4 separate regions of the Homo sapiens genome follow, and regions 1, 2 and 3 are each linked to region 4. The links are contacts of gene promoters, found by promoter capture Hi-C in human tissues and cell types (Jung and others, 2019). All regions are on one chromosome and are shown on one strand. The core of a region is centred on a gene start or on the middle of the fragment in contact, and the rest is flanking DNA. Distances in the headings are between cores, read along the strand shown.

What was found. The method cuts DNA at HindIII sites, captures the fragments that hold promoters and counts their contacts. A contact is called where the count stands out against the background at its distance.
Region 1: a contact is called between a fragment that was not itself captured here and the fragment with the promoter of MCC in region 4, in 1 of the 25 tissues and cell types used here (bladder).
Region 2: a fragment that was not itself captured here is called in contact with the fragment with the promoter of MCC in region 4 in 1 of the 25 tissues and cell types used here (mesenchymal stem cells).
Region 3: a contact is called between a fragment that was not itself captured here and the fragment with the promoter of MCC in region 4, in 1 of the 25 tissues and cell types used here (mesendoderm cells).

The regions. Positions count from the first base shown.
Region 1 is chr5:113,134,878-113,141,037 of GRCh38, reverse strand. All of the region lies in intron 5 of MCC (MCC regulator of Wnt signaling pathway), which reads left to right. Among named protein-coding and RNA genes, the nearest start is that of DCP2, 160 kb to the right of the region's middle. The HindIII fragment of the contact is 5,074 bases long and covers 1,536-6,160 here.
Region 2 is chr5:113,115,262-113,121,159 of GRCh38, reverse strand. The region is part of intron 6 of MCC (MCC regulator of Wnt signaling pathway); the gene reads left to right. Among named protein-coding and RNA genes, the nearest start is that of DCP2, 140 kb to the right of the region's middle. RefSeq lists an enhancer at 1,656-2,163. The HindIII fragment of the contact is 3,150 bases long and covers 2,180-5,329 here.
Region 3 is chr5:113,156,314-113,162,523 of GRCh38, reverse strand. All of the region lies in intron 3 of MCC (MCC regulator of Wnt signaling pathway), which reads left to right. Among named protein-coding and RNA genes, the nearest start is that of DCP2, 180 kb to the right of the region's middle. The HindIII fragment of the contact is 8,331 bases long and covers 1-6,210 here.
Region 4 is chr5:113,485,593-113,491,484 of GRCh38, reverse strand. MCC (MCC regulator of Wnt signaling pathway) reads left to right here and starts at 3,032. Exons shown (of 19, transcript NM_001085377.2): 1 at 3,032-3,240. The coding sequence starts at 3,071. RefSeq lists an enhancer at 2,839-3,133. The HindIII fragment of the contact is 5,374 bases long and covers 1-5,348 here.

The sequences.
Region 1 (6,160 bases), core at 2,823-5,322, 350 kb after region 4:
GATCTTCCCCGAGTCCAACAACTCACACACCAGTCTCCTCTGGAAGCGCCCTCACACACACATCTAGAAACAACGCTTTAACATTTCTCTCAGATATTCCTTAATCCAGTCAAGTTGACACCTAAAATTAACCATCACAGTCTCAGCTCTTAATATGCTGTGATGGGCCAAATGCAGTAGGAACTAGGCACCGTGGATGAACTCTAACTGCCCTAGCATACCCACGGTCTACAGAATTGCTTGTCATACTGGACAGACACAGTGGTGGTACCATTGTAGACTTTGGTGTCACTTAAATCTGGCCTCAGTTAAGAATTTATTGGAGAAGCTAAAAATCATTATTAAGGGCATAGTTTATATAAGCTATGATATATCCACACTTAAGCTATCCTGAATTGCTTAAGGAAAGAAAATGACAATCTCATAGTTTTCTATCTCAGGTCACAATCAAAGCACCAGGCACCTTCTGTGACTGCCCTAAAAGACTCCCATCCCTTACAGTCACAGTGCTAATGTAGCCAAAAATCAGATACTGCAGGTTGCAGATGCTAATGTGAGTTGAATTCATGGCCACGTCAGATCTCTTAAGTGAAGATTAAGCATTGGTAGGAAAAGGTGAAATCGTGAGAATTTGAACAGGGACATTTGGGTAGATTCAAATAAATTCAAATACCTGGAAACTACAAATTCCACTGAGCTCTCCCTCCTACAGAAACAATTCTCCCTCCTCATCTAATAAAGCAAGTCCTATTTTGCTTGGAGACTCTGTAACTATTTCATCCCAGGTAGGAGGTGGCAAATATAATCATGTCCCATTCCTACTTCATTCATCTTTATCTTTAGGCCTAAAAGTGGTCAAATATCATCATGTCCCAAAGAGATAAGTAGAAAATCCAACTTGGAAAGATACAAGTAAAGCACCAGAAGATTTGTAAGATTCCATTAATTTACATTTAATAAAACTCGGGGAAGTTTTATTGTATGTTCCTTAGAGATGCTGGATAGACCTTTGATGCATAGTTTGCAAATATTTTCTCCCATTCTGTAAGTTGTCTGTTTACTCTGTTGATAGTTTCTTTTGCTATGCAGAAGCTCTTAAGCTTCATTAGATCCCACTTGTCAATTTTTGCTTTTTTGCTGTTGCTTTTGGTGTCTTTGTATGGTGGTGCACACCTATAGTCCCAACTACTCAGGAGGCTGAGGCAGGAGAATCGCTTGAACCTGGGAGGTGAAGGTTGCATGTGTCTTTATAGTAGAATGATTTATAATCCTTTGGGTATATACCCAGTAATGGGATTGCTAGGTCAAATGGTATGTCTAGTTCTAGATCTTTGAGGAATCACCACACTGTCTTCCACAATGGTTGAACTAATTTACACTCCCACCAACAGTGTAAAAGCATTACTGTTTCTCCACATCCTCTCCAGCATCTGTTGTTTCCTGACTTTTTAATGATCGCCATTCTAACTGGTGTGAGATGGTATTTTGTTGTGTTTTTGATTTGCATTTCTCTAATGACCAGTGATGATGAGCTTTTTTTCATATGTTCATATTAATTCATGTGTGAGATTAGGAACTAAGGGTTCTAGACCAGGGAGGGAGGAACTCAGTTGGACCGATGACGACTTTATTGATAGGACTTTTCCTGTAAGAGATTCTGGATTGAGTATGTTACTATGTTATACTAATCAAACTAGTATTCACCAGTTTGAATAACTGAAAACTAGGCTCAACAAAGGACTCTGCATTAAATTATGTTGAAATGCCAGAACTTTGCTAGTATAATCTAGAAAAAGTTTAGAAGCCTGAGGAATCAGCGATGTTGACTGGGAGATAATGTCCTTAAAATGGGGTCCTTGGTACCACTGAACAAACAGAGTCGAAGTGGGCTTGGTTACTATATTGGTCAACAAGGGCACAATAGTAATCAAAAAAGTTTGACCTGCTAGGGATAGTTGTAGTGGCTAAGCTTGAGATCTCTAGAACTGATATAAATGGGCAGCCTACTAAAGTTTTACTAGATCATTATAGTCAAACTCTGGTCTGGTGAACAGAGACTTTACTTGTCATCACAATGAATAATCATGGCCTCATCCAATTCCCTTACCTGGATAACAGGCCAGTTATAGAACCAGAGTCCCCTGGATGAAGGGGAAGATGTATCAATCATGCCACAAGTGAGTACAGTAAACTTTCCTTTTACCCCTTCAAAGAGAATGGCAGGTACTTATAAGGGAGAGTGTGCAGTGGGGAAAAGAGAGAACCATATTCTTAGGTAGATTACTAGACATTGAATCTAAACTGATGATAACCCATGGAGCTTCAAAATATTTGTGGTTCACAAGTCAGAGCAGGGACTTAGGAAGGCATATCAGTCAGCTTGGGCTGCCATAACACAATATCATAGACAAGGTGGCTCACACAACAGAAATGTATTTCTCACAGTTCTGGGGGCTGGGAAGTCTAAGATTAAGACACAAGCTAATTATTTCCCCATTGAGGCTCTGTTCCTGGCTTGCAGATGGCCACCTTCTCACTGTGTCCTCACATGGAGGGAAGAGAGAAAGAGGAAGCAAGCTCTCTGCTGTATCTTCATATGAGGGCACCAGTCCCATCATGAGGACCCCACCCTCATGACCTCATCTAAACCTAATTACCTCCCAAAGGCCCTGTCTCCAAACACCATCACATTGGATGTTAAGGCTTCAACATAAGAATTTTGGCGTGGGCCAGGCGTGGTGGCTCATGCCTATAATCCCAGCACTTTGGGAGGCTGAGGCAGGCAGATCACTTGAGGACAGGAGTTTGAGATCAGCCTAGCCAACACACCCCTCTCTACCAAAAAATACAAAAGTTAGCTGGGCGTGGTGGTGCGTGCCTATAGTCCCAACTACTTGGGAGGCTGAGGCAGGAGAATCACTTGAACCCAGGAGGTGGAGGTTGCAGTGAGCCAAGGTCGCACCACTGCACTCCAGCCTGGGTAACAGAGAAAAAAAAAAAAAGAATTTTGGGACGCAATTTAGTGCCTGGGACCTTCTGTGACTACCCTAGAAGACTCTCCCATCCCTTATAGCTACAGGGTAATGTAGCCAAGAATCAGACAATGCAGGTTGCTGAAAGTCAGGTGGTAAGTCGCATTATGGACTCAATCCAAATCATAGTGGACCTAGTGATGGCACCATCTGAGAGGTAACCTTTTTCAATGCCCTAGAGATGTGGTAAATGCTCCGAACTAGCAACAGTATATGGTGCTGTGTTTTGTGGATTGAGAGAATGGAAGTGGCCCTTCTTATGAATACACCTAAAAATCCACTTAAAAAGTTGTTGCTTCTGTTACCCTGATACCAAACGCAGACAGGGGCATAACAACAACAACAACAAAAGCACCAGTTTCAGGCTAATATCACTAATGAAAATAGAGGTAAAAATCCTCAACAAAATACTAGCAAACCAAATGCAACAGCACAATAAAAAGGTCATTCACCATGATCGAGTGGGATTCACCATAGGGATGCAAATACCATTCAACATATGCAAATAAATAAACACAATATACCACATTAACAGAATCAAGGAAAAAACATGATGATTTCAGTAGATGACAGAAAAGCATTTGATAACCATCCCTTTATGATAAAAACCCTAAAATGGATACAAAAGGAACATATTGATATGGTTTGGCTCTGTGTCCCACCCAAATCTCATCTTGAATTGTAATACCCACATATTGAGGGAGGGAGGTGACTGGTTTCTTCCATTCTATTCTTATGATAGCATAAGAACGAATTCTGACAAGATCTGATGGTTTTCTATGTGGTTGACAGTTCCTCCTGCACATGCTTACACTCTATCCTGCTGCCTTGAGAAGGTGCCTGCTTCCCCTTCCACCATGATTATAAGTTTTCTGAGGCCTCTCCAGCCATGCTGAACTGTGAATCAATTAAACCTCTTTCCTTTATAAGTTACCCAGTCTCAGGGAAGTTCTTTATAGCAGTGTGAGAACAGACTAATACACATATCTCAAAATAAAGGCAACCTATGACAAACCCATGGCTAATATCATAGTGAAGGGGGAAAAACTGAAGGCCTTTCCTCTAAAGACTGGAATAAGACAGGGATGCCCACTTTCATCACTGTTACCCAACGTAAAACAGGAAGTCCTGGCTAGAGCAATTAGGAAAGAAAGAAATAAAGGGCATCCAAATTGGAAAGGAAGAAGTCAAATTCACCTTGTTCGCAGAATTATCCTGTTCACAGATGATATGATCTTATATATAGAAACCCCTAAATACTCCAACAAAAAACTTCTAGAACTGATACATTCAGTAAAGTTACAGGATACAAAATCAACACGTTAAAATCATTTTAGCATCTCTATGCACCAATAACAATCAGAGAATCAAATAAGTCAATTCCATTTACAATAGCTACAAAAATCTAAATTTTAGATCTAAAAAGGTTTAAATTTTGATTCCTTGCTTGCACTCCTAGCAGGTAAAAAATAAATAAATAAATAAATTTTGATTCTTATATAATTCTTACAGCAGCTCCTAAACCAGGAGAGCTACGATTACTCAAAGTCCTCAACCAAGTAATTCTACCTATAGGAATATCAATGCATGTATGAATCTTATCAGAAGATGTCTTGCACCCATGAGCTGTACCATCAGTAGGTCTATTTTTATTTATATTTTCTTATTTCAGATCTCTGTTTACATCACTAGGTCTAAAAGCAGACTTCTTCAGGAGTAGAGATTGTTGATTACTTCATTAAATAAAGAATTCTAACCAGCTGAGATGCTAGCTAAAGAAAATAAGGATTTCCTAGTAGGAGAAGGAAGGAGTAAATATCAACTGTAGCCTGTAACCAGCTATAGCCTGTAATCAGAAGCAATGGCTACGCTATGCATATATTCTTGCTTTTATGTATATATGCATGTCCCTTTTTCCTCTTACTTTCTCCTACTTAATTTTTATTTATTTATTTATTTTTGAGACAGAGTGTTGCTTTGTTGCCTGGGCTGGAGTGCAGTGGCGCAATCTGGGCTCACTGCAACCTCTGCCTCCTGAGTTCAAGTGATTCTCGTGCCTCCCCCTCCTGAGTAGCTAGGATTACAGGTATGCACCACCATGCCCGCCTACTTTTTTGTGTTTTTAGTAGAGATGGGGTTTCACCATATTGGCCAGGATGTTCTCGAACTCCTGGCCTCAGGTGATCTGCTCACCTTGGCCTCCCAAAGTGCTGGGATTACAGGTGTGAGCCACCACGTCCAGCCTCTCCTATCATTTTATATAGGATGAGTTGGTATTGGTGAAACTCATAATTTAGTAGGTAGGTTACGTATCTAGGTGGGTTTTAATAGCATTTATATATGCCAACAGTGAAGAATCTGAACACAAAATCAAGAAAGCAATCCTATTTACAATAGCTACAAAAATTATAAAATACCTAAGAATAATTTTTTTTTTTTTTTTTTTTGAGACAGAGTCTCACTCTGTCACCCAGGCTGGAGTGCAGTGGCACGATCTCGGTTCACTTCAAGCTCCACCTCCCAGGTTCACGCCATTCTCCTGCCTCAGCCTCCCGAGTAGCTGGGACTACAGGCTCCCACCACCACACCCGGCTAATTTTTTTTTTTGTATTTTTAGTAGAGACGGTGTTTCACCACGTTAGCCAGGCTGGTCTCGATCTCCTGACCTTGTGATCCACCCGCCTCGGCCTCCCAAAGTGCTGGGATTACAGGTGTGAGCCACTGTGCCCGGCCCCTAAGAATAAATTTAACCAAAGAAGTAAAAGACCGACTGGGCACAGTGGCTCACGCCTGTAATCCCAGCAACTTGGGAGGCCGAGGTGGGCGGATCATAAGGTCAGGAGTTCAAGACCAGCCTGGGCAATATGGTGAAACCCCGTCTCCACTAAAAATACAAAAATTAGCCAGGTGTGGTGGCAGACGCCTGTAGTCAGCTACTCAGGAGGCTGAGGCAGGAGAATTGCTTGAACCCGGGAGGCGGAGGTTGTAGTGAGCTGAGATCGGGCCACTGCACTCCAGGCTGGGAGACAGAGCGAGACTCTGTTTAAAAAAAAAAAAAAAAGAAGTAAAAGTTCTCTACAAGGAAAATTACAAAATTCTCTCTAAAGAAACTGGAGAGGATGCAAACA
Region 2 (5,898 bases), core at 2,505-5,004, 370 kb after region 4:
TCAGATTAGGGTGGTGGCAGCTGAGATTTAATAAAGATGTAAAATTGGCAAGATTTGCTGAAGGATTGGAAACCGATTGAAGGTGGGGGGTGTGTATGCCCCATAAGAGTTTGTTTGTACAACAGATGGATAACAGGGCCATTCGCCAATAGGGCACATAGGAAGTAGGACCAGGTGGTTTTGCTTTGAGTTTTGTTTTGCTTGGGGCAGGAACTATATGATAGGTGGAGATCGTGTTTTGTTTGCCCATGGGTTTATAGTGTCTTGAAGTATTTGAGCGGAGGTGCTTCAGAAGGCAGTAGGCATTCAGATAAAACACCAAGAGGAGAGACCTGGGCTGAAGAAAAGCAGCTGGGAGACATCAGGGTGTTTGCAGATGATAACTGTTGACTCTGTCATTGCCCCATTTGTATCTTACTATCACGTTGACATTTTAAATTATGTAATAGTATTTATTTGCTTGACTGATTCTCCCACTAAATTCCACTAGGCGGAAGCATGTTTGTTTCATCTCCTAGTATATCTTCAGAGATTATCACAGGGCCTGGCACATAACATGTGTTTAAAGATAGTAGTGGGAATGAATGAATGAGGTAATAAACCAATCCACCAGTCAGCCAGCCAAAGATGAAGGAATAAAATGAGGAGAGTGGTATTCTGGAAGCCAGTGGGGCAGAGGAGGCTCTAATAAGGAAGGAGCGATCAGTAGTCTGGATTGCATCTAAGGCCAAATAAAATACATCAAAGCCATTGAGAGCTGTATGTTGGTACAGCTTAAGCCAGGCAGAATTATGTTGAGGAGTGAAGACACTTCCCCCAACTAAACTGAACCCAGTCCCCGGGCTTTATGTTACAATACACACAACTCCCTGCAACCAGACCATGCATATGCCAAGTTCATACCAGCATGCTAAGTTCATACCAACATGCTAAGTTCATAAGGGCATCATAAATCTCTAACCCTGGCAGCCCCAAGCTTCAGGACTCTGTCTTCTGCCTTAGCCAGACAGATTTAAACAGCCTAGAAATTGCTTATCATTGTAGAATGTGAGCCCTATACTGATCCCGCCATTCACTTCTCTCAAATTGTATTTTATGGAATTAATAAATGACCTGTACTCCAACAAAGTTCCATAATTAAATAAGTTTGGGAAGTGCAAGGATAAACACATTTACATGGATGTCTTTCCTGTGGGGCTTCTTGGACCTCCTGACTTGAGGTGGCGTCTGTTGCACTGGTCCTCACACAGAAGGCAGTGTCCACCTATCTGCGCCATGGGGCATCCTCATTTTCCCAAACCATTCTTTTCATTCCGTCCCTCATTTAAAAATACATGGGTTAATTATAACTGGTGGTAGCCTCTTTCCTGAGAAGACTGAGTTCCTGGAGGGGAGTGACCTTCCCTGCCCAGTGTTGACACATGTTCTCTGCCCACACATAGAAGCTTTTTTTTTTTCATTTAGTCAGCAAACTCACTTGGGGCTGTGCTAGGTACTGGGGATGAAAGACAGAATCTGCTGTCAGGTCATTGTGCTCCCACCCTCAAATCCTTCAAGCCTAGAGTGACTTCTAGCTTCCTCAGCACGCAGCCAACAGGGCGGTCCCTGCTTCTGGCCGCCTCCTTGGCCATTTGTCCTGTTTTTCTTCCAGCTGCAGCCACTCTGGCCTCCTGGCTTGCTGTTCCTCCAGCCTGAGCTGCTTCTCCTGCCCGGGGCTCTGTGCTGGCTGTTCCTTCCGCCTGGAGCCCTCCTTCCTCGGCAGCTGTCTCCACCAAGGCCCCCCGCCCTCCCCTCTAGAGTCATGCCTCATCCCTCACTCTCAGGCAGCCACTTGCTTCCCTTTCCCTGCTTCATTTTCTTTCATAACATGGAGCACTCCCTGAGGATGGATTGTGTTTGTGCTCATTTCCTTGTGTGTTATCAAGCTTTATCTGGCTGTCATGCCAGAGTGCAGGCTCCACGCGGGCAGGGACTTCACCTGCCTAATTTACCAGCATAGCAGTTCCTGCACGTAGGAGATACTCAAATACTTGAGCAGCAGTGAAAGAACCCCATCCCAAAGCTCACAGTTGTTTGGAGGATGCAGACAGGTCCACAGGGAAGACCTCACAGTGCAGTTAGGACTCCATAGCAGGCCTGCAGTGGCCCTGGTGATAACCTCGGGGAGGAGCATGGAAGAATGCTTGCCAGAGGTCACAGCCGAGCAGGAATCTGGGAACTGAGTGGGGTCGGAGCCCATGAGGAGGAGGGTGCACCGGGCAGGGGCAGCTCTGCCAGATCCCCCAGGAGGACAAACACTTGGGCACAACAAGGAGGAGTTCATTAAAGCTGCTCACACAGTGCCGTCAGTGTGTTTGTTCATCGGAACTGGCTGTCTCCCTCTTCTTATTCCTTCGCCATTTTCCAATTAAATTTTTTCAACAGGAAAAAAGCTTCCATATGTAAGCACCATTATAGGAAATCATTTAAAAGTAGCCATTTCATTATAGTTGCTATATTTGCAAACCTGCATTAGCAACCCAGAGGTTTTCTTGAGCTGCAGAATTTGCTGCAGTGTATTTGCCGATCTCCAAAGATAACAGGACTAAGTCCAGCCTATCAGCTTCATCAAAAAGCACTTTTCTTTTGTTTTCATAACCACCCATCAGAGTCCAGCTGCCCCTTCAGTAGGCTGGTTCCTGGACACTGTCTTCCAAGCCTGGAGGAATAAACGATCCAATTAAAAAGTGCTTTGACTTACTAAGCAGTCAAATAAAGGAGAAAGGTGCCAGCCTCTGTCACACTGCATGTTTTTTTTAAAAAAATTACCTCTTATCAAACCTCGTCACACATTGTTCAGAAAATAAAGGTAATTAAGTGGACAAAGCCAAGGTAGGAGTTATTGCTTAGAATTTTTATGTCCTCCATCTGGCAAAGGCTCGCCGTTAAAAGAGAGGGTGGGTATACCAACTAACATGCTTTGCTCACTTACCCTGTGTCAAGCATTTACATGCATCCCTCATGTTTAATCCCCAACCTGGAAGGATGCCCTGGAGGTCTCTTCATCTGTAAAATCAGGATAATGAAGTTTGGAGAGGGTAAGTCACTTGTCCAAGGCCACACAGCCAAGAAGTTGTTTTTGTTGTTGCCGCCTGTGTTTCTATAGATGGCTTTCCTTTGATACTCCTCGGTTTAAACAGGAAGACATGCCAGTGGTTGATGTCATTTGCTTACTGCAGTCCTTTGAGGTCTCTAGGGCTGATGGGGGAATTAGGGAGCAGCTGTGTGATCACAAGCACCTGGCTTAATAGTGAAGCATTTGCAATCAGATTTTGCGGCCCTTCATATTAAAATAGAAACAACACTCTTGGACCCAATGATTCTGGGTATTGCAATAGAGCAGAGCACAGATGTGTGCACACAGACTCATTGCATCCTGCATGTTACAGCATGTTTGCTGTCCTTTCCTGTGGACCATTTTCCCCACCTCTGTTAACGCAACAGCAGTGCTTTTCTGGAGCAACTGTTTCCAAAACAAACAAAATCCCTGATGGTATGGGCCTTTGCACAGCCAGTGAAGCATTCTGTTATTTTGAGATCTCTTCTGATTTTGGGTGAGAAATTTTTATTTTTCTGGAATTTAGCAATATCAAACTATTATACCCTCAAGGTTGAAATATCAAACCATTATACCCTGAGGGTTGAGGTTTATACCCTTAGGGTTGAAATCTACTCTTATACCCGCAAGGTGTCCTATGCATAGAATACCTTGCTTTCTGGTGTGATCACTTAGATTTTTCCTCTGTGTGAATAGGTTTTGGAGGACAACCAAGGAAGAATTTCCACATGAAACCTGGTTTTTTGGTGCGGTTGTGACTGTGAAATATGTTTGATGCTAAAGCCAGATTCTCCTGGCTTACTGGCTGATGAGGCTTAATGGCTTCAGGAAAAAATGTTTACAAGTGTCAAGCAGCCACTCAGAGTGAGGAGAGAGGGTCGGGGCAGGGAAAGGCAGCCCTGCCTCTGCCAAAAACAGTTTTTGCAGACCTGGAGAAATGTGTTTACACAGGTAAGGCAAGCTGTCTGGAGAATACTCACTTTTTGCTAGGAATGAGGTGGCTAGATAGTCAGTGATCCTCTAGTCCACAGACTGAAAGGGTTAGACCGGACTGAAAGTTGTACTCTAACTAGTTCATGTAACAGGCCAAGCCCTTTGTTACCTTTTTCTTTTCTTTATGTGGGCAACTTAATTTCTCTGGAGAGGGTCACAATAGGGATCATCCCTGAGAACCAGTTAACAGTTTGAACATTGATTCACTGGAGCACTCTCTGGGGTGACTGTGTGTTTTCTCCTAGGGATCTGAGCCTGGTCAAATAAGACCTGTCTGCAAATGGTAGCAGAGCTAAGTGACTGAGGAGAACCCCCTGAAGTCATTCCAGAATCTTCCTTAGAGTAACCAGGGTTGAGAGCAGGAAAGGTTATTGTTCTACTTCAGTTTGTGTTACTTTGGAATATTTTCCCCAAATTCTGCTGTTCCATAACTTTTCAGTCCCCAAAAGAGACTTGGGGTATAAGATGGAAATGGAAAGGCATTAATCTACAGCATTTACTCAAAATGAGCTCCCACAATTCTTGGGATTCATGAACTTCTCTTCTATTAATAGCATAAACAGTCTTTATTTTCTAAATAGACCATGTCTTTTAAGGTTGATTTGGTTTTGGTTATTTGAAATTCATGACATAATTTTTCTTAAAACCAGCATTATAATAAAGGAGTGTTAGCTCCTGAAACCAGCCTTGGAAAGCCTGTGTAATCTGTCATGGAAATAACTTCGGGACCTTGCTAGTGTTGTTACCGCATCCCCAGCCATCATTGTGAACATTGCTGCTATGAGAAAATATTTTGCAGATCACATATGGATGCCAGAACCACATCTTCCCCCTCCTCCTGGTGGCGTGGAAATCCTCTCACTCCTGTTAGCATGAGGGTCACAGGGCCTGGGATGAGTGCTAATGGAGGATCCACTGTTTGCTGTCAAGGGCAGGAGACAGCCTATCTAAAGGGGATCTGGAGCTGCCGCAGGTGACCCAGGCACTAAGAAAGGGCCATTTGGACTGGAGGTTAGTGAGCCTGGGGGAGAGTGGGCAGAAGTGAGGCCTGAGAGCTGGGCTGTGGTCAGTGATGACAGAGAGCCATGGAGGCACAGTGAAGGGGTTGGAATTTATCCTCTAAACATACTTGTAACTATTTCTTCAAGATTACTTCTCAAAGGTATTGAATGATTAAGTCTTTTCTTGTATATTGTCAGTTGCTGTCCCTTCTCTACCCCAAAGATTTCCTCTCATCCTCTTCAAAACTGGGTATCATTCTTATTTTAAAGCTGTGCCAATTCAGGTGATCAATAGTCAAATAAGTAAAATGATTATACGTAGATTTGAACTTCTTTTCACATATGTGTGAAACAGAACTTTTCTGGCAGAAAAGTTCTGGCAGAAACCACTGACGGAACTTTTCTGCCACCGAGGCTGGAGGTGGATGACTAGGAGTTATGTGGGGGTGCGTAACAGAGCAGAGCAGGGGATCCTAGATGGGCACCAAGGTCAGTAGAGGCTCGCAGTCCTGGAGGACAGCTCCCTGGAGTTGATGTTAGGTTATCTTCCTTATCCCTTCATATTTATGACCAAGTTTGTTGTTTCACAGAAACAAATTGTGTCAGAAATCTAAAGTGACAACAGTGAAAATGAAAACAAATCCCCAGCTGGTAAGATTTTACTAAAATAGAAGTCCTGAAAATGCAGCCTCGATTGCTTTGAGAAAAGAAACAGAGATCTATAGTCAGAATGTGGTGGGGTGGCGTCTTTCGCTTCTCAGGTCACCCACCCTGACTTTGAAATAGGAAATTTTTCTTGACCCCTTC
Region 3 (6,210 bases), core at 2,561-5,060, 330 kb after region 4:
CCATGTCTCAGGGAAAAAAAAAAGAAGATTGCAACGACCCTTGTGGCTAACAGTCTGCCAGCTGATGTTGTGGTTAAGTGATTTGCCTGAAATATTTCATCTAATCTTCTCAACTAGAATGAGTGGGTGTTGTTCCCATTTTAAAGATGAGTAGACTGAGGCTTAGAAAAGTTAAACGAGTTACCCAAAGCTGAACTAATACTCAAGTCCAGGGTATTTTGTTTTTGCATTTTGACAAAGCCTATGTCCTTAACCATGAAACTGTTTTTTCATGTTGTTTTCTTTCTACCTAATCTCTTTCCCATTCTCTTCATTTTCTGGGAACAAAGTGATCCGAGTTGGGACTATTGTTGGCTGGGTTAGAGTGATTGGAAAGGAAAGAAGATTCAGACCTAAAAGCCATTCCTTCTTTCTATCTAAACACACTGTTCTCTGAAGCAGTCAGCAGGGCCCCATCAGAGAGGGAACACGAAGCAGATTTGAAATGTGTCTCCTCCTCTCCTGGTGCTTTGGATTAGATGTACCAGCAAACGGTAAATGGCCCATCCGTCAGCAGCCCTGTGGTGAGGCAAGACAAGCCAGGGCCTGCCTGGGCCTTCCCTGAAACGGAGCATGCCGTGGCATCAAGCATTTTAAAACTGATTTTCTTTAAATGAAATAATGCATATTAAAGTATCTTTTAAAAGATGGGAATGCATTTAAAAATGATTGTATTGAATATCTAAATAGCTGACATCTTGGATAACTCTTACACTTTAATTAGAAGTCTGGAAGCATGTGCCTTGAGTTTTATATATACTCTGTATGTGTATATGTTGGTAATTGCATGTCTGTGTGTATGGGTATGTGTAGACACACACACACACACACACACACACACACACACACACACACACACACACATAAATCTAAACCTCCATTTGCTTTCCCAAACAAAAAGTATTGTCCTTAATCCATTAAAATCTAGGGTCTCTTCAAAGCACTTCAACCATTGCTGTAAAAATACTTTGGCCTTTCCTGATCTGTGGAGTTTATTGACTGTTTCACCACTAAAGGTACTTGGTTTCTCTAGAATGGGGAATTCAATACCTGCTAAATTGGATCAATATAAAAATTTATGAACAATTCAGACCTTGTCAGAGAACCCTTTTATTCATGTTCATAGAATTCTCTGTGGGAGTTTCCGCCTGGGGAATCACATCAGTATTTAGCGTGCACTGAAATATTCATGTCCCCTGATTAGCTGGATTTAATTGTTACATCTTCATCTCCTCCATGATGTGTCATTAGGATGCAGCCCCCTTGAAATTTAAGTTGGTGCAGCCAGCTTAGTGCAGTGTCTTTATTTTGTCTGTGTTTCTTTCCAAAAACCCTTGTATAACCACATAATTTTCGTTTCCCTTGAAAATAAATATTACTACAAGTTAGGATTTTTTAGTGGAAAATAATAACTTATTTTTAATAGCTACTATTGTCTTACAATATTTGTATAGGAAATTTTTACAAAATATATAAAATATTCTTCTGTTTAGATTTTTAATTTTTAAAGATCACATCAGTTGAAGGTAATAACCTTTCCTTTTCTGTAGTCTTTAAGCAGCAAAGTTAGGTGTTTGTAAGGGCTTGTTTTACCTATACTACAATTTTGTCCTCTTTAACTTTCCCACATAGAATGTAGGAATAGCTGGAGATTAATTTTTCACGGATTCCTTCCTGGGTCTGATACCAGCTGAATGGTCTTCTATTTCTCAAAATGTTTAAAGTTTTAAAGAATGAATACCTGTCTATCCCCCATGCTAATTGTGCTAATTCTGCTTTCTTCTCTTAACAGAATAACCCTCTGAGATCTTTCTTCTCAACAGTTTCGTGGGTATTTGCAAGGATCTCAGAAGTGCTATGATATTCTGTTGCAAAGCAGGGGACTTGGTAGTTATGAACAAGACCCTGGGGTTAGACAGACCTGGGCTTTCATTCTGGCTCTGTTACTTACTAGCTTGACAAGTTACTTAACCTCTAAGTCTCAATTCCTACCTCTTTAAATTGGAGATAACAGCACTACCCATCTCATAAAGCTATGTGAAGAATAGTTGAGAAAAATGCATGTTATATGCTGAGTATAGCAATCTAGCACATAGCAAGCAGTTGTGTTAGCCAGTAAAAATTACGATGGGACATATTTTCAGGGGAGCATATGTTTACAGATGGGATGGGATTGTGGGTCATCTTTAAAGCTGATTGTCAGTCTCAGACACCTCTCCCCCTTGGGAGCCATTTCCTAACCATTTATTTGAAGAAGGGGAGGTGTGGCTTTAAGTGGGTCCTAGGGACCAGTATGACAGCTTTCACAGTGAGTACCTGGGCCTGCTTTGTGATCTGGCACTGTTCCCTATATCAGCCATCCTTGGGTAGGGTTAATCTTTCTTGTATAAATGGTGTCCCACTGCTGCGGTGTTGAAGGAGCCTTTGAATGCTGTTTTGAGCAACTGAATTTCAGCTGAGGTTTAAGAAATAATTCAGGGGCCACTGACCTCTCAATGAAATTATCAGGTAAAAGGAAAGATGAAAAGCTGCTGCTTTCTGAGTTGATCTAGGGCACACAAAAGTGATTTCCATGCAGTGAGACATCTTTAATTTATAATTTAGATTATATTTAATGAGTTTTAACTTTCAAGACTATGAGCAGCATTTCTTGAAATACTACATAGCAGGTGCCCCTAGCTGGAATTCCGGTAGTAAAGAGGAATGTTCCAGTCCTAGAAGTCACTGAACAGGCCTGATGGTATCCATCTAGCAGGGAACACTACCCTTTTGCCAGGCATTTTGTTCTGTATGTATCTGAATTAGAACACCTGGGTGTGGAGTCTTGGATGGGAAGCTGAATGAGGCTTTTTCATGTGCAGATGTTTCTTGCTGTCTCCAAGGATAGCTGGGACATACATATTTTATTGACTACCCACGAGCTCTTGGATTGCCATTGGGAGAGAGGTAGCCTCTGGACAGGGAACCAGGAAATCTGAATTTGATGAACCTTGAACCTCTCTGAGTCTCAGTTTCATTTCTCTACAATGAAGGAATTGGACTAGATGTTCTCAAATTCCCTTGCCAGTGGTAAGACGATGTGTGATTCTGAAAACTCATTCCATTTTTAGGGAAAAGATCTTGGGTGAACAGTTCTGTATAGAGTGAAGCTTCCTTAAATATTTGAGCTTCAGCAGATTTTTCTGGGACCAGTGGACAAATAAAGTATGCAAAGCCCATAGTGCAGAACTCAGGTGCCTGGACAGGTGAACATGCCAGGCAAGCATGTTACAAGTTTAAAACCAGAAGAATCTTAGAGGTAATCCGATACAAACCCTTCTACAGAGGACAAAAAAGCACAGAAAGGACAAAGAGAATCACCCACATTTATACCAAGCTGAGCCCCACGCTTCATCACAGCATTGGAGGACTTGCCCTGCCACCCTTCTCGCTCCCACCCAAAATCACATGGGTGCTGCCATCACGAAAACCCTGACCCTGCTTCTCCCATGTCTTCAGCCCTGCCTGTGCACACACCTCACCCCCGCCCCACATCCACCCCTCCACACACACATACATGGACACAAGCAGGTTTACGCATCCCTCGGGCAAGGGAGAGCCGTGGTATGTTGAGTTGGAGGTGCCAGTGATGCACATAGTGGAGAAGATTTGAGCATAGGGTCCTTGTGTGTTATTATCTCCGGTACTGTTAGGTTGGAAAAAGTAATTGCAGTTTTTGCCATTGCAATTACTTTTGCACCAACCTAATATTTATTAGTTTTCTTCACTTCGGCTGATTTTCTACCCCTCTTCTGTGCCTTGGTTTCCTCGTTTGCCAGAAGGAGGTAATAACATATATCTCACAGCATTGTGGTGATGGTTAAATAAGATATGGCATGTAATGTGCCTAGCCCAAGCCCCTGATACCAATAAATATTCAGCAAACGGTAACTATTAATATTATTACTTTCATTATTACTGCCTGGTGACCTGGAATTCTCAAGAATATTCGCAGATTTTGGCATTGGGATTTGACACTGCCTTTCCTCTGCAGCTGATGGAACAGGTAAAGTGTATGAAGCATGCAGTGCGGAACCTGCCAAAAATATGTATTCAATGAAATTAAGTTCAGTGAAATTAAGTGTCCTTTAATGAGAGAAGTTGGCACTACCCATTGTCACTGGATGAGAGAAGTTGGCACTACCCATTGTCATCACTAAAACATAAGCAAAAATTGTGCATACTTTGTATCTGGAAAGCAAGTGGCTCAGCTAGAAAGACAGAATAGTACAGTAGTCCCCCCTTACCCATAGTGTCATTTACTTGCAGTCAACTGCAGTCTGAAAATGTTAAGTGGAAAATTCCAAAAATAAACAATTGGCAGGTTTGAAATTGCAAGCTGTTTTGAGTAGGCTGATGCATTTGCGTGCTGGGCTGCTTTGTCCGACCTGGGGAAGGGCTCCTTCCTTTGTCCAGCATATCTGCACTGTCTGTGCTCCCCACCCATTAGCCAGCTGGGTTATCACATCAAATGCCATGGCATCACAGTGCTTGTGTTCACGTCATCCTTATTTTACATCATAATGGCCCGAAGCATAAGAGTAGCAGTGCTGGCATATTGTTAATAATTGGTCTGTTCTATTAATTATTTTGAATCTCTGACTATGAATTAAACTTTATCATAGCTTTGTATGTATAGGAAAAAACAGTGTATATAGAGTTCAGTACCAACTGAGGTTTCAGGCGTCCACTGCAGGTGTTGGAGCAGACCTCCCTCCATTAAGGGGGAGACCACTGTAACTCCTGTCATTACTCAGTGGGAAGGCAATAGATGCACGCTGGCAGTGAGTGTTAAACTAGCACTTCAAGTAGCCAGACCAAGTTAAGGAGAAAGAGAACAAGCACAGTTTACCCCAGATGAACTCACTTCCCAACAAAGCCGGGAAGACTGGCCCAGCCCTCAGCACCATGAGGTGCCTCAGCAGCATGAGGTGCATGTATCTAGATAGGGCCTGTGGGGATGAACTCATTCCTCTGCCTCACCTGTGGCTGCAGGTGCCTTTGGGCCCTTTGAAGACTGTGCTGTTCAAAGCACAGACTGAAGTCCCACAAAGATGAATCTAGGTTCTCCACCATTTTATTCAAATCGTATTCCTTTTTACCAACTGTGTTTCATGGGAAAAATAGTTGTCCCTCAGCAAATCGGGAAGCATAGCTTGCCCTTAGGCCACAGAGTCCTGGCGTGATGAAGGTCAGAGGAGATGGTGCCTGGAGAGTGGTGTGTGCACTGGGTAGTGTAGGCATGTCTGCTGTGTTTATTGCCAGGGTTAGCAAAATGCAGAAGCACCTAATAACCAGAAATACGCAGTGACACTCCTGGAGGGGCTCTCATCAGAGTCATTGGACTGCAGAGTTCAAGGGCACCTTATGAAGTGTGAAGCCTTTTGTCACACAGCAGATATGTAACGGAATAGACATCTATTCACTTAGCAAAGGAGATACCCCTGGGAGAGTCTGTCATGAGGGCACTGCTCACTTCTTACCTGGGCTCAGGGGGGCTGGACACCTTTCCTCTCAGAGGCTAAGAGGGCTTGTCCTTAGAGTCAGTTGAACAGTGAAATTATTTTACTCAAGTTATGTTTTATCCAAAAATAACCATTTTGACAGTTAGCTTGCAGCCAAATGTCCAGGTGGTTTAGTTTCGTTTGGATACACACTGTAAAATGAATGTGAAGCAGGGCTCAAAACAGCCTAGGGAATTAGGGCCTTTTATCTCCAGAAATGTGAGGAATGTGTGGATCTATATCCTTCATGCACTAGATCCAGATTTGTATACAAAGTGTCAGGGTTCTATCCAACCTCGTTTAGGCCTCATGTTAAAATTTCACAGAGAACTAAGAGCCCTGGCTGTCAGCTCCTTAAGCCTTAGGATTTCAGCAGAATCTGGCAACGCAGCTATTGGCTTCTTAGTCCTGTGCTATCTACCAGGTGATAACGCTTCTCCAGGACAGGACTGTTTTCCTAGTCTGAGTGTCCCTAGCACCTCTGATGGGGCTTGGTCTGCCTGAGAAGGTTGTTGACTTCAAACAAACCCGTTTGTTGAGTGCTTACCTGGTTCCAGCCACCCTGCTAGTCACTTTCTGGATGCCATCATTTGTCTTGACACAGCCCTACAACAAAAGGGATTAAATT
Region 4 (5,892 bases), core at 1,783-4,282:
TTCAGCAAAAATCCTTTGACATCTAGGTGGAGACCCCACATCTCCACAGCTCTCGCTTTCTGCAAACCTGAAGAATTATAATGGCATCATATGGATGCCATTAAGGCCTATGGTTCTCATCTTCTTGAGTGACAGGTCAATTCACACCTAAAGCTTCTTGAGCCACAGCTGGCATGTCCAAAAAGCACTGTACCAGAATTTGGGAAGTAAAGACCTGAGAGAGACCTTGGCAGCAAGCCCATGAAAGGTGCCTCATGTCTGTCTCCTGAAACCATTCTGTCCTCCTGCCTCTGGGTCTGTGATGAGAGGAACAACTCAAAGTTCTCTGAAATGCCATCGAGGTCTTTCCTTCTCGTAATGATACTTTCTTCCTTTACTAATCTCTGGAACAAAAGGTTGCTGGGCTACACCCTTGGTTTCCTCTCCCAAACACACCTTTTCACTCTTCACATGGCCAGGCTGAGAGTTTTCCAAATCTTTCCACTTTGCTTCTCTTATGATTGTAAATTCCACCTTTAAAGTTTTTTTCCCCCTCTCACAGCTTGATGTAAGTGGTTAAAAGTAGCCATGCTGCAGCCTGAATGCTTTACTGCTTAGATATTTCTTTGGCCAGATACCCCAGTTTCTCTCTCTCAAGTTCAGCCTTCCAGAAAGCCCTCAGGCATAGAACAGTTCAGCTAAGTTCTTTGCCAATTTATAACAAGGATGGTCTTTACTCCATTTTCTTGTACCTTGTTCCTCAGTTCCATCTGAGACCTTGTCAGAATGGCCTTTACTGTCCATAGTTCCATCAGCATTCTGATTATGACCATTTAACCAATTTCTAAGGAGTTCCAAACTTTCCCTGTTCTTCCTGTCTTCTCAGCCCTCACTAGAACCTAGGCTTTTTCTAGACTGCTGCTTCATTCTTGTAGCCTCTGCTCATTATCCAGTTTCAAAGCTGCTTCTCCATTTTCAGGTATTCGTTTTCGTTAACACCCCACTCCCGGTACTAATTTCTGGTCTTGTCAATTTTCTGTTGCTTAGAACAGACTACCTGAAACTAGGGTGATTTATAAAGAAATGAATTTATTTCTTACAGTTCTGGAGAATGAAAAGTCCAAGGTCAATGGGCCACCCTGCTGGTGGGGACTCTGTGCAGAGTCCCAAAACAGTGCAGGGCATCACATGGCAAGGGGGCTGAGCCTGCTAACTCAGGTCTCTCCTTCTCTTCTTATAAAGTCACTAGTCCCACTCCCATGATAACCCATTAACTCATTAACTCATGAATCTATGATTTTAGTGCCCTGAAATACTGGGAACTTAGAGAATAATAAAGAAGTAAAGTAGGAATAGGTAGATGGGGTGGAGAGGAGGAGAAAGAGAGCAGAGATTCCTTCCTTCTGACCTAGCAGACATTCCCAAGACATATGGACTTGTTCCAGTTATATATTGCTGCATAACAAATCACCTCAAAACTTAATGGCTTAAAACAACAATTTTTAATTATTATCTTCACAGCTCTGGGGGTTGGTTAGCCAGTTTTGCTCAGGGTCTCCAATGCAGTTGCAGCATCTAGAGCTAGCATCATCTCTCACTCATGTCTGGCACCTAGTCTGGGAAGATTCTAAGATCCAGGGCTAGAACAGCTGTAGCTCTTTGGTCATCTCCTTTTTTCTTTACATGGTCTTTCTGCATGGTTTCTCCAGCTTCAGGGTAGCCAAACTTCTTTTCAGGCAGCTCAAGGCTTCAAAGGTAAGTGTCCCAAGGGAGAGAGCCAAGTGCAATCTGCATTGCCTTTTCTAACCTAGTCTCAGAAGTCAAGGCAGTCACAAGTCCAATCCAGGTTTAGGGGAAGCAACAGACTCCACCTCTTGATGAGGGGTGCACCAAAGAATCTGTGGACATATTTTAAAACCACCAGAGAACTTCACACGCCTCTCTGGCAGAAAATCCAGGACAGAATAATGAGTCATTCACGAAACCACAAATTGCTTCACTGTGGTTTCCCTTTGGCTATGGGGGAATAGTGCAGTGTTTAAAGGCTCCTGCTCTGGAGTTAGGCTGCCCGGGCTTGCCTCTGCCCTAACACTTACTAAACCTGGAACCTTGAGCAGGTCTTGGTACCTCAGTTTTCTTACCTGTAAATTGGGAACAATGAGAGCTAACAGTTGTTGAGCACTTACTAGGTGTCAGACATTGTCCTAACTGCATTATGTCTGCTCTCCTTTTATATGTAAGATAACTCTATGAGGTACTTATCTATTAATACTTCCTAAGTCGTAGGATTGATAATAAAAGAGGCATCTTCCAGGTCTGTAGTGTGGATCAAATGAGACCATCTATTATGTTCGCTCTTGGCATTATTAAAGCTGTTGGGGGAAATTCTAGTGATGCCTGGCCAGTAGAGTGAGCCGTTTCCAGAAATTGACCCAACGTACACAATGCCACACAGCGTGCAGACTCTTCCCAGTACAGAGTGGGAGCCAAGATGAGGGCTGCGAGGGCCAGGTTTCTTGACAGGTGTCAAAATTTCATAAAAAGGCCAGTCATTCCGGTTCTCATTGGTGGCTATGGGTACAGAACCCGGAACAATCCTGGAGAGTGGGATTACAAGCACCGTTTTGAGTTTGCAGAAGGAGAGTGTTTATATAGCTTCTCTGGAAAAGGAAGCCATGACTCCGGGCGGTCGGAGAAGGTCTGCCGGGAGTACACCTGCCCTCTGCCTGAAGCGTCCCCAAGTGTCCCGGGCCCGCGTCGTTGCCGGATGCACAATGCTGACACCCTTCCCGGGGGCTTCCAGTGTATTCTGCCTCCTCTTGTGTTCCCGTTGCCACCCTTAGCTCCCTGACTCTTCCAGCCACCTTCCCCTCCTCCCTCTTCCCTGAGGTGCCTCCTCGGGCGATTCCAGAGCGCCCATCTTCCCAGTCCGGGCAAAACCCGGAGAGGTGGAATCCCTCGCCCGGAGCGCCCCGGCGGCCACTGGGCATGCTCCGTTGTCAGGCAAGTTCGGGGCTGCAGGCAGCTTGCGCGCCGCGCGGATTCCAGCTGCGGTCGCGCGTACTCCTCCTCCCAAGTAGGGAGCGGGCGCATGATGGCGGCCGCGGCGGCAGCGGCTGCGGGGAGCTCCAGCAGCGGCGGCGGCGGCGGCGGCAGCGGCAGCAGCAGCAGCAGCAGCGACACGTCCAGCACCGGCGAGGAGGAGAGGATGCGGCGCCTCTTCCAGACGTGCGACGGCGACGGGGACGGATACATCAGCAGGTACGCGGGGAGGTACGAGGAAACCGACAGGAGCGAGATCAGTCCCTCCGCGCGCCCTTGACCCCTGCTCTGCCCCCTCGCCCCAACTTGCGGCAAGTTGCTCAGAAGCTCGCGGGAAAAGTTGGCCGCGACTCCGAGAGCGCGTAGCCGGCTCGGCCACGAAGGCCGAGGGGACTGCTCTGTTCGCCTTGCGGGGGTGCCAGTTGGTCCAACTTTTCCCAGCGCTGTCTTTGTCTAGGCGTTGGGAGACATCTCCTTAGGATGCGCACTCTTCCGGGGGCTTGGAGTGTTCTTCCCTGTGGGAAAAGGAGTTCTGGCCGCTTGTCCCAGGTAGGAGGGGCTGCCCCACAGCCTCGGGGTCCTGGGCATCAAGATGCCGCAGCACGGGGCAGCGATCTGCCCGGCGGCTTGGTGGACACCCCAGGGCCGCACCGGGAGGAGATGAGCTAAGCGACAGCCTCGGACAGGGAAATAACCTGTGAAGAAACTTTCTTGTGCCGCAGAACCCATGAATTCCAAACTTCAGAGCCCAAAGAATGGGTATCGTTTGCCACCCAGTATTGATTTAAACGCAGTAGCCTGAGAGGAACGAAGCGCTCAGGAGCAAACTAGGGCTAGACCCGACTCCTACCCGGCTCTGTGCGCTGACCAGGTGAGCTTCGGCGTGGCTCCGGGCGCCTCCGCGCCTCCACTCACAAACAAACTTTGGGGTGTTTGCTTCGGATCCCCCGCACTTCCTACAGAGGCGGTATTTAAGCTTCCTGCCTCCCGGCTTGGCCAAATAATTACTTCTGCCCAAATTTGTGTCACTTAGACTCTTGTGGTGAAGAAGGCAATCGCAACATTTTCTGGTATGCTTCTATTGAATGGTTGACACCGGCCATTGAAGACTTGGTATCCGTGGAAATTTGAATTGCCTTGGATGAAGGAGCAGCCTAAGTTGTGCATTACATGTTTCTTTAGTCTATGTCTTGGTGATGCTAAAGATCGTTTCTGAAAATCCGGGGCTGCTTCCTGATTGTCCCTGCCTACCTAAAAAAAAAAAAAAGAAAGCAAAGTGCGGAATTTTTCCCTTAAAATAAAAAAAATTATTTATTTGGGACTCAACGCAATTTTGATCATTCTTAGGTGAATTTTTATTACTTTGCTAAAGTTTTACTGAGAAACATTAGGAAGATATCAGAAAACTTGATGGAGTAATTCTGTTCGGAAATGAAAATAATATGTAATTCTGATTGACTCCATGCAAATTTCTATCTGGAAGTCTCGTTATTTTGGTTCTGGGAGTAAAAGAAATTTCATTATATAGTTTTCCTTTTTGTTGTTTTCCTACTTGAAAGGTTATTATCTCATTTGCAATAATAAAGGCAAACTCCAACTTTGGATACAATTTTTTTTTTTTTTAGACAGAATCTCGCTCTATCACCCAGGCTGGAGTACAGTGGCGTGGTCTTGGCTCACTGCAACCTCCGCCTCCTGGTTCAAGAGATTCTCCTGCCTCAGCTTCCCGAGTAGCTGGGATTACAGGTGCCCACTACCACTCCCGGCTAATTTTCGTATTTTTAGTAGAGAAGGGGCTTCACAATTTGGCCAGGCTGGTCTCGAATTCCTGACCCTAAGTGATCCGCCCGCCTCGGCCTTAGGAAGCGCTGAGATTACAGGCCTGAGCCACCGCTCCCCGCATGGATGCAAAAAAGTTTAATTTCACACGGGCAAGAGTGCATACAGAAAACTAGCAGCGTGCTATCCTTTTCTAATTTGGCCTATTAATATATTGCTTTATCTGAACTACACTTTCTATATAAATGCTCACATTATTTTCGGTGATTCTACCCGGGAGGATAATGAATTCTGTAAGCGTAATTTGAGTAAAGTGGGTGGTGATAAAGAAGCCGTTTTGGATTAGAGTAGAAACTGGCTGGGGCAAAAGTGGAAAAAGTTGTTAACATTCCTTGAGCTGCATTACTTTAATGTGTCTGCTTAAAAGTTTCAAGGTATGTGTAGTAATGAACCCTAAATCATAACTTTAACTGTGGGTGGAGCTGCCCTGAAAATTATGCTGTGGCAGAATTGCCATGTAGGAGAAGTTTAGGGATGGCAATCTAGGGCAACAAGGAACTTGTCTGGAAGTGTGTTTACCTGGTAAGCACAGTTTTACCTGGAATTTACGTTTATGTGGTAAGACTTGGGGAATGGGGCTAATGAAGGTAAGGGGCATTAAATGATTCCCTCTCTGAAGCCACTTTTCTGTGCTGCTTTCATTTAATGACCTGTACTTACCACTCTGTAGTGGGTGATGTGGTTTGGAGGGTTGTGCATTCCTGTTCTATCAGACATGAGAGTTGGACTTTTTAACATTAAAACCTTAAAAACTTTGGATTCATCTAAAGACGTTAAATTTATGTTCCTGGTAGACAGCTGTATCTGTTAGAATTTCAGATGACTATATGTCATCACAGTAACCTAACCATAGTCAAGTAAGGGTTGGCTTTGTCACCTAGTAGAAATCTGGAGGTAGGCTATCTAGGTTGGGGCAGCAGCTCTGCGGTGGTGTCAGTCCCCAGCTACCTTCTACCTTTCTCCAACACCATTTTTCACATAAAGCATTCATCCTCATGGTTATCTCATAGTCCAAAGGTGATTGCCCTGTCT